Regions from separate parts of the Homo sapiens genome. Here all the other regions are linked to region 1. The links are contacts of gene promoters, found by promoter capture Hi-C in human tissues and cell types (Jung and others, 2019). All regions are on one chromosome and are shown on one strand. Each heading gives the region's core, a stretch centred on a gene start or on the middle of the fragment in contact. The rest is flanking DNA. Distances are from core to core; before and after follow the strand shown. Region 1 holds the start of LRRN2 (leucine rich repeat neuronal 2). Region 2 has its middle 62 kb from the start of LRRN2. Region 3 overlaps LOC105371695 (a long non-coding RNA gene).

Evidence for each region. Contacts are between HindIII fragments. The study calls those that stand out against the background at their distance.
Region 2: a contact is called between a fragment that was not itself captured here and the fragment with the promoter of LRRN2 in region 1, in 4 of the 25 tissues and cell types used here (H1 embryonic stem cells, heart left ventricle, liver and 1 more).
Region 3: a fragment that was not itself captured here is called in contact with the fragment with the promoter of LRRN2 in region 1 in 2 of the 25 tissues and cell types used here (bladder and pancreas).

The regions. Positions count from the first base shown.
Region 1 is chr1:204,683,355-204,687,377 of GRCh38, reverse strand. It overlaps LRRN2 (leucine rich repeat neuronal 2), which reads left to right and starts at 1,640. Exons shown (of 2, transcript NM_201630.2): 1 at 1,640-2,058. The HindIII fragment of the contact is 8,916 bases long and covers 1-4,023 here.
Region 2 is chr1:204,745,800-204,749,822 of GRCh38, reverse strand. No RefSeq gene overlaps it. Among named protein-coding and RNA genes, the nearest start is that of LRRN2, 62 kb to the right of the region's middle. RefSeq lists a silencer at 2,722-2,811. The HindIII fragment of the contact is 5,126 bases long and covers 1-4,023 here.
Region 3 is chr1:204,726,209-204,730,231 of GRCh38, reverse strand. The region is part of intron 1 of LOC105371695 (a long non-coding RNA gene); the gene reads left to right. LOC105371694 (a long non-coding RNA gene) reads right to left here. Exons shown (of 3, transcript XR_922458.4): 1 at 3,914-4,023. It also overlaps the pseudogene LOC124900453. Among named protein-coding and RNA genes, the nearest start is that of LRRN2, 42 kb to the right of the region's middle. The HindIII fragment of the contact is 5,503 bases long and covers 1-4,023 here.

The DNA.
Region 1 (4,023 bases), core at 391-2,890:
CCCTTCATCAGCTGCTCCCACCCTGTATACTCAATGTGGCATTGTCGCACTGTGAAAATGAGGTCTCACATTCTGCCTACAGATTTTGGGCTACTGCCTTAAACGATCTGGGCCTCCATCCCCCGGTCTGTTAAAAGGGGATATTAGTCAACTCAGAGTCTAAGATGACAGAGATGAGAAAAGGCTGGCATCTAATAGTAGCTCTATAATTTTCCTCCCTTGCCCCCTACCCTCCAGACAACCCATTCTACTCTGCTTGTCTCCACTTTCCTGCCTTTGCTGGTCCCCATATTCTCTTCCAGTTCAAATCCTATCCCTCCAACTAGGCTCAGTTGGAGACTCAGCTCCTCCGTTAAACCTTTTGTGAATAATGCTAGTCCATTAAGGTGGTTTCTTTTTGTATTTCTATGGCACTTCCATCGTCTTGAAATATTAAAATTGGTTTCATATAGTTCCAACCTGTCACTCTGAGCTCCTTGAGGCCATTATGCTCCGTAGCAGGGGTGGAGAGTGGGAACATGGGGGTGGTTTAGTGGGAACTTAATATGTGCTCATTCAATATATGAAGGTGAGAATCCCCTCTGTGCATACAGAACTCAGACCTTCAAGCCAACTTCACAAAAGCCACCAGGCATGGCAGTCACCACTGGCTGTACCCTTGGAAAAGACAGGGCCAGAAGCTCAAGCACTGGATGACGGCAGGCAGCCCAGGGAAGCCACTCCTCACAGGACTCCACACCTTGGCCTCCACCTCATCCATTCCCCTGTTGTTGGTTCTGCAGGCTCTGGTCCAGACCCATCAGTAGGGTGTGGCCTGCCATGGAGCCGAGTTTGTGATGTCTGTTCTGAGTGGTCCAGGCTGAAGTCCCCACCAAGGCATGGGTGTTGGGCATTGGGCCTTTGCCCTCCTCTAGTGGCAGTCACCCAGCTTTTCTAAGCCACCAGGCAGCAGCCTAGCACCCACCTTTGGCACCTTCTTACTTTCCTCCCCCAGTCTTCATGATGTCCAGCTGGCAGAGTGGGGAACCCTGAAGCCAAACCCCTAACTGGGCCTGCCAGTTCCTGACTGAAATTGACCTCCTTCATTGAGAGCCAGGACGGAATCTTCCAGAATGCTAGAGCTGCACGGCTCAGGATGCAATGCTGGAAAAGCATGACAACTAAAGGGGTCTTCCACTCCATTCTTTAGGGTGAGAGGTGCCTGGGCCCAGTGACAAATTCTCACCCACCCCACTACATTCCTTAGTCCACTGTTAACTTCGGGAGGGTAGCACCATGCAAAGCAAAAATGTGATCTTAGGTGCATGCTGTGACTGTGAGCTGCACCTGTCCTCACAAAGCTGCTGAATTCCCCATTCGTCTCCTGGCCTTTGCAAGAGGGTCCGAGGCAGTATGAGAGAAGCCAACCCTTCTCTTCCCGGACCCAAGGGCTGTGCCCCTTCTCTCAGCCAAGCCTTGTGTCTCTAGGCACAAGGACAGCTCAAGCGTTAGCGTCTGGCCCCACCCAACTCCTTCCTCCCGGGTGTGTGTGCGTTAGGTAGAGGGGGCCTCTGGCCACTCAGGAGTTAAAATGGCAGCGGGACTGGAGGGGGTTGGCGTGGCATGCAGACTGGGAGGAGGCGACCGGAGTGGGCTGGGGAGGTTGGGAGAGCGGCGGAGAAGCGAGTGAGGAGGGCGAGCGCGAAGCCGGGAAGAGGGGCGCGCGTGGAGGGGGTGCCGGGCGCCGCGAGGGCCTGCTCCGGGCACCTGCGAACGCGCGGCGCTCTCAAGGAGCGCCTGGCTCTCGCCCGCCAGCCTCCGGCCGCGACGCGCCCAGGGCGCGGAGAGGGGGTGGGGACGGATTGGGATTCTGCCATCGCCCTCACCGGCTGGGCCCTGGAGCCGCTCCCAGGATAACTCCACGTTGGGGAGGGCGCCCGCCGAGCCTCCCCGGCCTGTGCAGACGGCGCGCGCGGCGGGAGGGCGCGGACCAGCGTCCCCAGCCCGGCCCCGGGCGGAAGGCGAGCGGAGCGCGGCCGCGCGGGCAGCAGACGGCAGACGGTGCCCGGCGCCCACGGGGTGAGTGTGCAGCTTCGGGGCTGACCTGGGCAGCGCCGCCGCCGCCGGGGAATCGTGGACACCGAGGTCGCTGGCGTGGCCGAGGCGTACGCGGCGGGAGCGGCCGGAGCAGCCGCCTCAGGGCTCCTGGCTCCTGCCCCGGCACCGCAGCTCCGCCTGACCCGGGTGGGGGCCAGAGGAGGGCCGGCCGCTGCCTTCCGCCGAGACGCCTGCGGGGGAGCCGGAGACTTGGGAGAGGGAGGCGGCCGAGGGGCAGAGGGACGGAGGGCTGGAGAATGCCCAGAAGCGGCCAGGGAGAGGGCGCCTGGGCCTTCGCCTGGAGAGGCCAGAACCTCCCCCAAACTGTTGCTGGGTAGAGTGGGGCCCTGGAGATGTGGAGGAGCCGAGAGGTGGCAGTGAGGTTAGGGAGGGCGTGACACGGGCGGACTGGCAGGCTGGAAGCGCTCCAGAGCCTGGGGACTTTCTCCTCCTTGGAGCTCGCGAGTCTGTGCGGAGGGACAAGGTGGCCTTGGGTCTGTCTGAAGTATCTGGAACCAGGAGCTAGGCTCCTCCCGGGCCGGCTGGCTGGGGTCCGACCGCAGCCTGGGATGGGACCTTTGGGGTGGGGGATGGGCCGGCCTGGGGCTCAGCCTGGGGACTCGGTCAGGGGGAAGCGGAAACGGAAGGGTGGCTCTGAGCCCACCGCAGGACCCAGGAGACAGGATGGGCTGGCCAGCCACAGGTGGGCCGTCTGTCCTGCTGGCAAAGGGTGGCGCAGGCTCTGGCTGCCCAGCCGGCGAGGAGCCGCGGGGTGAGGGAACTGAGCTCCATCTGGGGCCGAGCGGAGAAGCTAAAGAGGTGCAGGAGACCCGGAACCTGGGGAGGGGCCCCGGGGGTAGCACTGTGCTCCCTACCCTTCCTCCCCCACCCAAACGAACAGGAAGGAAAATGTCAGCTGGGCTTTGTGCTCTGTTCCTCAGGCTGCCGCAGCTCCCATCTGTTGGAGCCAACGCAGCTTCTAACTGGGCGACTGGCAGGGTTGGAGGGGGTGGGCTGGGCACAGCGCTCAGTTGCCAGAGATGGACTGACAGGCCCTCTGCTTGAGAACTCCAGGACCTAGGGTGGTGAGGAGAACAGCCTCCCTAGGTCAGGGCAGTAGAGGTGACTCCCTGCCAGTTTGGTCACTGTCATAGGGGAAGATGTAGGTCTCCCCATGCACCCAGGCCGATGGCAGGCTCCGTGCCCCCCTTTCCCGCCAGTCTAGGATGGGCTCTGGCCCAGCGTTTTGTCCCTGAATAAGAAGGCCAGGAGCTCCTCCCATTGCCCACTGCTTCTTAAAGATCCCTTCAAAAAAGAGCACTGGGCATGGAGGGTAGAGGTGGGCTCTGCACTGGGCACTGGAGCCCCCTTGCCTTTGGGCCCTGTGGCTACCAGAAAAAGCCACATGTGGGTGGCCTGACCCACTTTCCTGGCCAGGTGCTGTTGTGGCGAAACGATGGAAACAGAAGGGCAGAGCTAGGGATCTGAGCCTCCTAGGCCTTCTTCCTTCCCCTGTGCTGACTCAGGCTTCTCCTTCTTGCGGAGGGCTCTCTCTGGTCCTGGGATGGGTCCTCATTATTTGCAAAGCATGGAACTAAAGGCCTCAGTGCCTGGGAGATTGAGGTCTGCCCAGGGTCTGGCACCTAGGAACACCCCCAAATCCACACCCTCTCCCTAATGCAGTCTCCTCCCGGGGAAACACCGAGTGGCAGTAAGATCTCAGAGATCTGCTAATTCCATCCAGGCTAGTACAGCAGGTTCCCTCTCTAATTCAACACAGTTCTTCCTCACTTCCCATCCTATTTTCCCTGTGCCTCCCCTCTTCCTCCTCCCCCTCATCCTCCTCTCCTTCCTTCACTCTTCACTTTCCTCCTCTAACACTCTTCACTTCCCTTTTCCCCCTCACACTGCTCTTCCTCTTCTCTCACCCTCCTCATTCTTCCCCAG
Region 2 (4,023 bases), core at 1,142-3,641, 62 kb before region 1:
TCAAGCACCGCTGGGACCCTCTCTTTTTCCCTTTGATAGGCCACCTATGCCCCCACACACATTCAGAGTACACGCCCTGGCTGGAATGTCTCCCACCATCCATAGCAGTGCCTGCCTACCCTCCCCCAGTAAGTGGGACTGGTTTCTCTATTCTGATCTCTCCTCCTTGGCCCCCTTTCACTGTTTACTGAGTTCTAGACTCCCATTTATTATAACAAAACTTGTTCTTTTCCTTGAGCCTGCCTGCTTATAATTCATGCCAGCCCTAGATAATGGTTCTTTTGTGCTGGTCTGCAGGAATGAACAATTCATTGATTTCAGGTAAAAAGCTGCTCTCTCTACAAGAGAATGGCTTCAATTGGGTTGTTTATTCACATGAAAAAATAGCCTTTCTCTTATCTGTATGCTATTACATTTTATTTATTCACTTAATTCATATTTATTGAGCAACTACTATATAAATCAGCTACTGTGTTAAGTGCTAAGAATATAGACGTAATTCAGGCATGGTTCTTACCATCAAAGAGCTTATAGTCTAGAAGAATGAAATGTCTTATATCAAAAGAAGTACAAAACATCATGCTAAGTGCTATTTTATTTGAAGCATAAGTAGAATAAGATTGATTTTTAAAATTATTTTTAGTACTAGGGGATATTTGACTAGACTGATGAGCCCAGGAAAGACTGGCACCCGGTGAGAGGAAGGCTTGAAAATGTTATAGGTCCCCACCTCCTAAGCAGCACCCAGAGGTGGGGGAAGGGAGCAGCTACCAGATGAGGGCAGGAAGGAGAGGAAAGAAGCTGAGGAGCCTCCAGAAGTGGATGGAAGTGAGACTATGAGCTAAATTTAAAAATAATTAAGCCCCAGGTATGTCAATCGTCATTGCTCAGCAAATGAACACTCTAACAGATAATTATTCTAGGTATCAGAAATGCATTTCATATGATCAGAAACCAAACCCAAGGAGAGAGTCCATGGAGTTAAGGAAAGATTAGTTGCTTCTCCAATGTCTTTAGAAGGCGTACAGGATGGAGTTAAGTTGCTGGAGCAGGTCAAGTGCTAAGAATCATCTTATGTGATGCAGACCAGAAAAATTAACAACAAACAATACGTAAAAACTAGGCTTCATTAAAAACAAAACCAAAGCAAAAAATCCATCCATTTGTTCTTTCTTTTAGAATCATTTAAACATTTTTTTAAATGAGGTAAAATTTATATAACATAAAATTAACCATTTTTCAGTGAACAATTGAGTGTCATTTAATACATTGACAACATTGTGCAACCACCATCTTCAGCCAGTTCCAGAACATTTTCATCATCCCCAAAGGGTCTCCATTAAGCAGTTACTCCACAGTTCTGGGCAACCACCAATCTTCTTTCCATCTGTATGGGTTTCACTATTCTGGATATTTCATACAAATGGAACCATGCAACATGTGACTTTTTGTCTGGCTTCTTTCACTTAGCATAATCATCCACATTGTAGTATGTATCAATACTTAATTCCTTTCTATGGCTGAATAATATTCCATTGTATATCTGTACCACAGTTTGTTTATCCATTCATTGCATCGATAAGGATTTGGCTAGGGTGAATAGTGCTACTATGAACATGTGTGTTCATGTATTTGTTTGAGTACTGTTTTAAATTCTTTTGTGTATAAGCTTAGAAGTAGGATTGTAGGATTATGTGATAATCCTATGTTTAACTTTTTGAGGAACCAGCCACTTATTCGTAACCAGGACATTGCTTTAGACCTGCCAAAAAATTGTAGAGAAAAAGGAAAATAGGACTTCTAGAAGCCCATTCATGGGAGGTGGAGGTATGTACTGCTGACTGGTTGTAAAACCCAATTCTTCATCTTCCTGAACACACAGCTAGGTTACATTTCCCAGCATCTCCTGCAGCTGGAGGTTGGGGGCATGTGTCTCCATTCCTGCCAGTAGAATATGAGCACAAGTCATGTGTGGTAATTTTAGGCTTGGCCCATGAAAACCACGTGCAGGCAATCCTCCATCCCCTCTCCTCTTCTGCAGGCTCCTTGTGGAGAAACCACACAATGAAGATGGAGAAGCCACCAGATGAAAAGAGCCTAGGGTTCAGAATTACCACTTGGAGGAGACCTGCCACCAGTTGGTACCATTGGTTTTAGGCTGTAAGTGAGTGAAAAAGCAACTGTTCTTGTCTGGAACCATGAGCGTTGATGAGAACTCCATCACAGCTGCTAGCATTACTTGACACTTACTCTAAAGGCAAAAGAGAAGGCCACACCTTGCTCAGAAAGACCTGATGTGTGGAGCTAGTGCAAGGGGTCAAAGACTGAGGAGAGGCCAGAAGGCCAAAGCAGCTTGAGACTGGAGTGATTTGAGCCCATGGTCTTTCTGGGTCACACCAAGAAAAAGATCCAGAGCCTGGCCTCTAGAAAGCTTAAACATTCTACCAGGCCAGTATCAGGGCCAGCCTGAGCTATGACTGGCTGTAGTGTCCTTAGCATAAGGAAAGAAATGAGGCCTCTGCACCTAGTAAATTGTTTCAATCAGGAAAATTGTGAGTTAAAAAAAAAAATGACTAGACTAAATAGACTTGAGCTTCCTTAGACTCAGAAATCTGTTGATGCTCCTCTTTTTTTATGCTTTGTTGCTTTCTTTGATAATTTCCCATCTGTCTTCTTAAGTTTCTTTAGAAATTTCCATCTGAAAACTCCAAATCAGGCTGAGTCTGATAGGGGATGGCAGAGTCAGGGCAAACTCAGGCCAGCTCTGCAGGGGGAGAAGAGCACCCCTAGAGGCTAGGTGAGGTAGTGCAGGGACTGGTGTTTCTCAATCTGTATCTTGTCTTTGGGACAGGCAATTTTTCCACCTGCAATACCAAGAGCTTCAGGCTTCTTAGCATCCCTGGCCCTGCCCCCTACATGGCAGTAGAGGCCCAGTTGTGACAGCCACAACTCTCCTAGGCATTTCCAAACACTCCTAGGCAGGGCCAGTACCTTAAACCCAGGTTGAGAACCAGTGAATGGAAGATGGGAAGACTAGATAAAAATAGAAAATTTAGAAATCTAAAGACCATAAGGGACTCCTGAAATGTGCCCTACCTTCCTCAAAGCAGGGCTGTTCTGTAGCACCCTCATAAAGACTGTCTCCTCTTTTTATTTTTGTTTTGTTTTGTTGGTTGGGTTTTGTTTTGTTTTTGTCTTTTGTTTTGAAAGAGGGTCTTGCTCTGTCACCCAGGCTGGAGTGCAGTGGCGTGATCATAGCTCACTGTAACCACAATCTCCTAGGCTCAAGCAATCCTTCTGCCTCAGCCTCCTGAGTAGCCGGGACCACAGGCGTGCCCCACCATGCCTGGCTATTTTTAATTTTTTGTTTGTTTGTTTGTTTTTGTTTTTGTAGAGACAGGGTCCCCCTATGTTGCTCAGGCTAGTCTCAAACTCCTGGGCTCAGGTGATTCGCCCACTTCAGCATCCCAAAGGGCTGGGATTACAGTCATGAGCCACTGCATATGGCCTCTCTCTCTCTTTCTCTTAAGTTTCTCTCTAGACCACTCCATCCTCCTTGTTGTTCACTCAGTTAACAACCAGTTACTCCCTGTCCCCAGTGTGGATCAAAATTTTCTGATTTTCAGCCAGGTGCAGTGGCTCACGCCTGTAATCCCAGCATTTTGGGAGGCTGAGGTGGGCAGATGGCTTGAGCTCAGGAGTTTGAGACCAACCTGGGCAACATAGTGAGACTTCATCTCTACAAAAAATACAAAAATTAGCCAGGCCTGATGGCACACGCCTGTAGTCCTTGCTACTTGGGAGGCTGAGGTGGGAGGATCACCTGAGTCCAGCGAGGTCGAGTCTGTAGTGAGCCGTGATTGTGTCACTGCACACCAGCCTGGGTGACAGAGTGAAACCCGTCTCAAAAACAAAAAATTGTGATTTTTATTTTCTCAAAAATGTGCTTTTTCCCCAGCCTTAGACTAAGCTTTTTAAACCCACGGCCGCAGGCCGCATGTGACCCCGGATGGCTTTGAATGC
Region 3 (4,023 bases), core at 566-3,065, 43 kb before region 1:
CTTTTTTTTTTTTTAGTTGGAGTCTTGCTCTGTTGCCCAGGCTGGAGTGTGGTGGCTCAATCTCAGTTCACTGTAACCTCCATCTCCCAGGTTCAACCGATTCTCCTGCCTCAGCCTCCTGAGTAGCTGGGAATACAGGCGGGTGCCACCACTCCCGGCTACTTTTTTGTATTTTTAGTAGAGATGGGATTTCACCATCTTAGCCAGGATGGTCTCAATCTCCTGACCTCGTGATCCGCCCACCTCGGCCTTCCAAAGTGCTGGCGTGAGCCACTGCACCCGGCCAATTTTTTTCTTTAACAGGGTGGTCACTCAATTTGCAGAGCTTGGAGAAAGGCTTCTGCTCATTGTCTGAACCTATAGGGTCCCTTCGAGGAGGTCAGGGCTGTTCACAATCTATTCTCCTCCATGCTAACTTGGCCATCATCCCCCAGACCCCAGAAGGGGTTCTGTTGTGTCCTGGGTGGCTGTGTGGGCATGGAGCGCAGGTCTTCACCCCCACACACGCCGCCTCGTCACTCACTCCCCCACATTCTGCCACAGGATTCAACCCACTCCCCAGTTCCAGGTCAGCAGCAGCCTCCCTCCCCTCTCTTGTGGAGCCAAATCCTCCTCAGCATGGTAAGGTGGGCTTTGTTTTGTTTTGTCTTTTTAAATTACAGTGGAAGCATGGAGAAGCTGTTAACTCCACCCGCGTGAGAAGAGCCTAAATCTAGTACGCAGCTAGGACAGTCTTCCCTGAATGGAGTTGGGGTGAAGTTGGAAGTAGCTCTCATTCTTTTGTGACAAATCCATAGTCAGGAAAATGGACACAGTTAATATCTCTTCTCATTATCCTACTGCGCTGCCATTTACAGGTAGCTCTGAATTTGCAGTCCTCACTATTCCTATCACAAGACAGTTATTATTAGCCACACTTTACATGTGAAGAGGCTTGGAGAAATTAAAAAAAAAAAAAACTTGCCTAAGGGCACACAAGTATGAGTGACAGAGTGGAGAGGGATTCAAACCCAGGCCTGACTGAAGGCTGTTGCCACTATTCCAGCCACCACTGAGTGGACTTAATGAGTGATCTCTACCAAAGGTATTTGCATGGATTGTCAAAGCTTTGGAAAGGCTATAAGGAAAGAAATGCCCAAGTAAATTCTTCAGGGGTCAGTGGAGTGGGTGGGGATCTATATTCTGGAGGCAGCCTCCAGAGTCTTTCACATTTCCACCAGGTCAAAAAATAAATAAGAAGCAGCATAAACAAATATTGAACTCTAATTAACAATATGATATTGAAGTATTTAGAGGTTAAAGTGTACCAAAGTCTGTAACTTTGAAATGTGTCCACAATATAAGAAAAGACTGGTGGATGGATAGATGAACAGATTTGGGGTAAAGCAAATATAGCAAAATGTTAGTTATAGAATCTAGATTGTGGGCATATGGTTGTTCACTGTGCAATTCTTTAAACTCTTCTGAATTTTTACATTTTTCGTAATAACATATTGAGGGGAAATAAATCACACAGGTGGGTCACACCCATCTCTTGTTATACAATGCCAGGCTGGAGGGGAGCTTAATCATTAGTCACCGAGTTCTTTCCCAAGTGTCCTGCAGGAAGAGTGCTGGACTAGACATTTGAAGACACAGAATAACAAACAGGTAGTCCCTGCTTGGTGGAAATTTAGGATACCTGTGACAAAATAGGACGGAATCATAAAATCAACAGTCATAAAGACAGTGAGCTCTTTATTTTCTGCTTTAATGGAGGGGGAGCAAATTGCCTGACTATACATGTCCAAACGCCTTTTCTTTTTTACTTTGATGCATGGGAAGGCTCACCACACTTAAAGAGACAGAAACGGGCAGTAAGAGAAAGTGGCCCAAAAGCACTTAGTGGGTTACAGAAGGTCCCCAGTGGAGAATCCACCTGCAGGTCCCAGAAGGTGTGTTGAGGAGCAGGAGGGGCACCTTTTGTGGCAGGTGGGTTTAGTGGAAAGTTCAGGGGATTTGGAACCATGCCAGGACCAACTCTGCCGATCTAGATGAACTTGAACAAGTCACTGTTCTCTTTGAAGCTTAATTTCCTCTTTTGTTGCCTATAGGCCAAATTCTGCCTAGGGCTTGTTTTTATTTTTCACATCTGAGGCAGGAAAGCAAGGCAATTCTGATGACAGTCCTCAAAGGCTGATCTTGGCCTCCAGCCTTAGCTGCGAAGAACAGGGACCCCACACAGCCCATGGGAGAAAGGCGCCTAGGGCTTGTTTTTATATGGCCTGTGAGTTAATGGGTTTTTTAAAAATATTTTTCAATGGTTGGAAAAAATCAAGAGAAGAATAACATTTTGTGAGATGTAAAATTATATATAATTCAAATTTCAGAGCCCATAAATAAAGTTTATTGGAAAATGGCCAAACTCATTTGTTTACGTATTGTCTGTGGCAGCTCTCAATCAATAATAACCAGGTAGTTGCAACAGAGACCTTATGGCCTGCAAAGCCTCAAATATTTAGTCTCTATGCCTTTATTTGTTTATTTATTTTATTTTAACTGTTTTTTGAGACAAGATCTCACTCTGTCGCCCAGGCTGAAGTGCAGTGATGCAATCTTGGCTCACTGCAGCCTCGAACTCCTGGGCTCAAGCCATCCTCCCACCTCAGCCTCCCAAGTAGCTAGGACTACAGGAGTGCACCACCATGCCTGGCTAATTTTTGTATTTTTTGTAGCGTTGGGGTTTCGCCACATTGTCCAGGCTGGTCTCGAACTCCTGGGCTCAAGTGATCCTCCTGCTTCAGCCTCCCAAAGTGCTGGGATTACAGGTGTGAGCCACTGCACCCAGCCTCTACCCCTTTACAGAAACAGTTTGCCAACCTGGTGTGAAATAGTTCATCTGCAATTTAACTGCTCCACATACCTCACGTCACAGAATTGCTGTGAGAAGTAATGAGATTTGGGTTTAGTAAACTGGAAGATTCCATAAGATGCAAGGTGTTACTACTGCCCTGATTTCATTTCTCTCAATACCATCCTTACAAAGGCAGGAGAATCTACAAGGAATGTCTTATATAACAGGAAGAGAAACTAAAGTTAATAAAGGGAGACAAATGGCATGCAGAAATAAATGCTCCTATTTTCCCTGAGAGGCTTCCCACAGCAAGGGCCTCAACTATGTACTCCCGCAAATTTGGGGATGTACAGTCTCATCTGGAAAGATCCAAAGGGGAGGACCAGGCATTTTTCAGGAATTTAATGAGCCAGTTGTTAAACACACCATTATTGAAAAGTAAATTACATAAACTTATAATTTAATAAGTGATATTAAAAGCAAAGGCAATAAATACTCTAATGTTATCAATTCTTAATTCTTTGACTATATTATCTGTGTTCTTGAGGTCATTTACTCCTGTTCTATGTGTATGGTGAAAATACTATACATCAGTGTGCTACTGTGACTCTTTTCCTGGCTCTGCATTCAATGATGTCATATTTGGTATCTTGAAATTAGTCATGGCAGGAGTATTTACAATTGGCAGTTGGCAAGCCCTACAAATCAGGCATTCCCCCCAGTCTCAAAGCTGTTTGTTAAACATTTACCAGCACGCTGCTGGGACCAGGACTTCCATTTACAAGAGATTCACAAGGGAGAGAGAAGGCAAGTAGAGTAGAGAGTGAAGAATGACAGAGGGCAGGGGGTGGACATCATGGGGTGCAGAAGAGGAGGAGGGTCAGGTCTGCTTGTGTTCCAAGAAGCTTTTGAACCAGAAGAGATGTATTTGGGGATGAAGTCTTTGATGTAGCCATTTCTATGGTGTGCATTCTTTGGTTCCACCTTCAGATTAATGAGGTGTCAAAGAACCTAGGTCCATAAAGATGAGAACACCAAGATTTGGGAGGGTTGGAGTCGGGGGGAAGGTGAATGACTCACCTGGAGTCATCCAGTGCCTCACAGACAGGTCTAGTATCCTGACTCCTTCTCCCAGACTAGCTCTTCCCAGAACGGTGACACTGTCTCACCAAGCACCTGCAGATGACAGG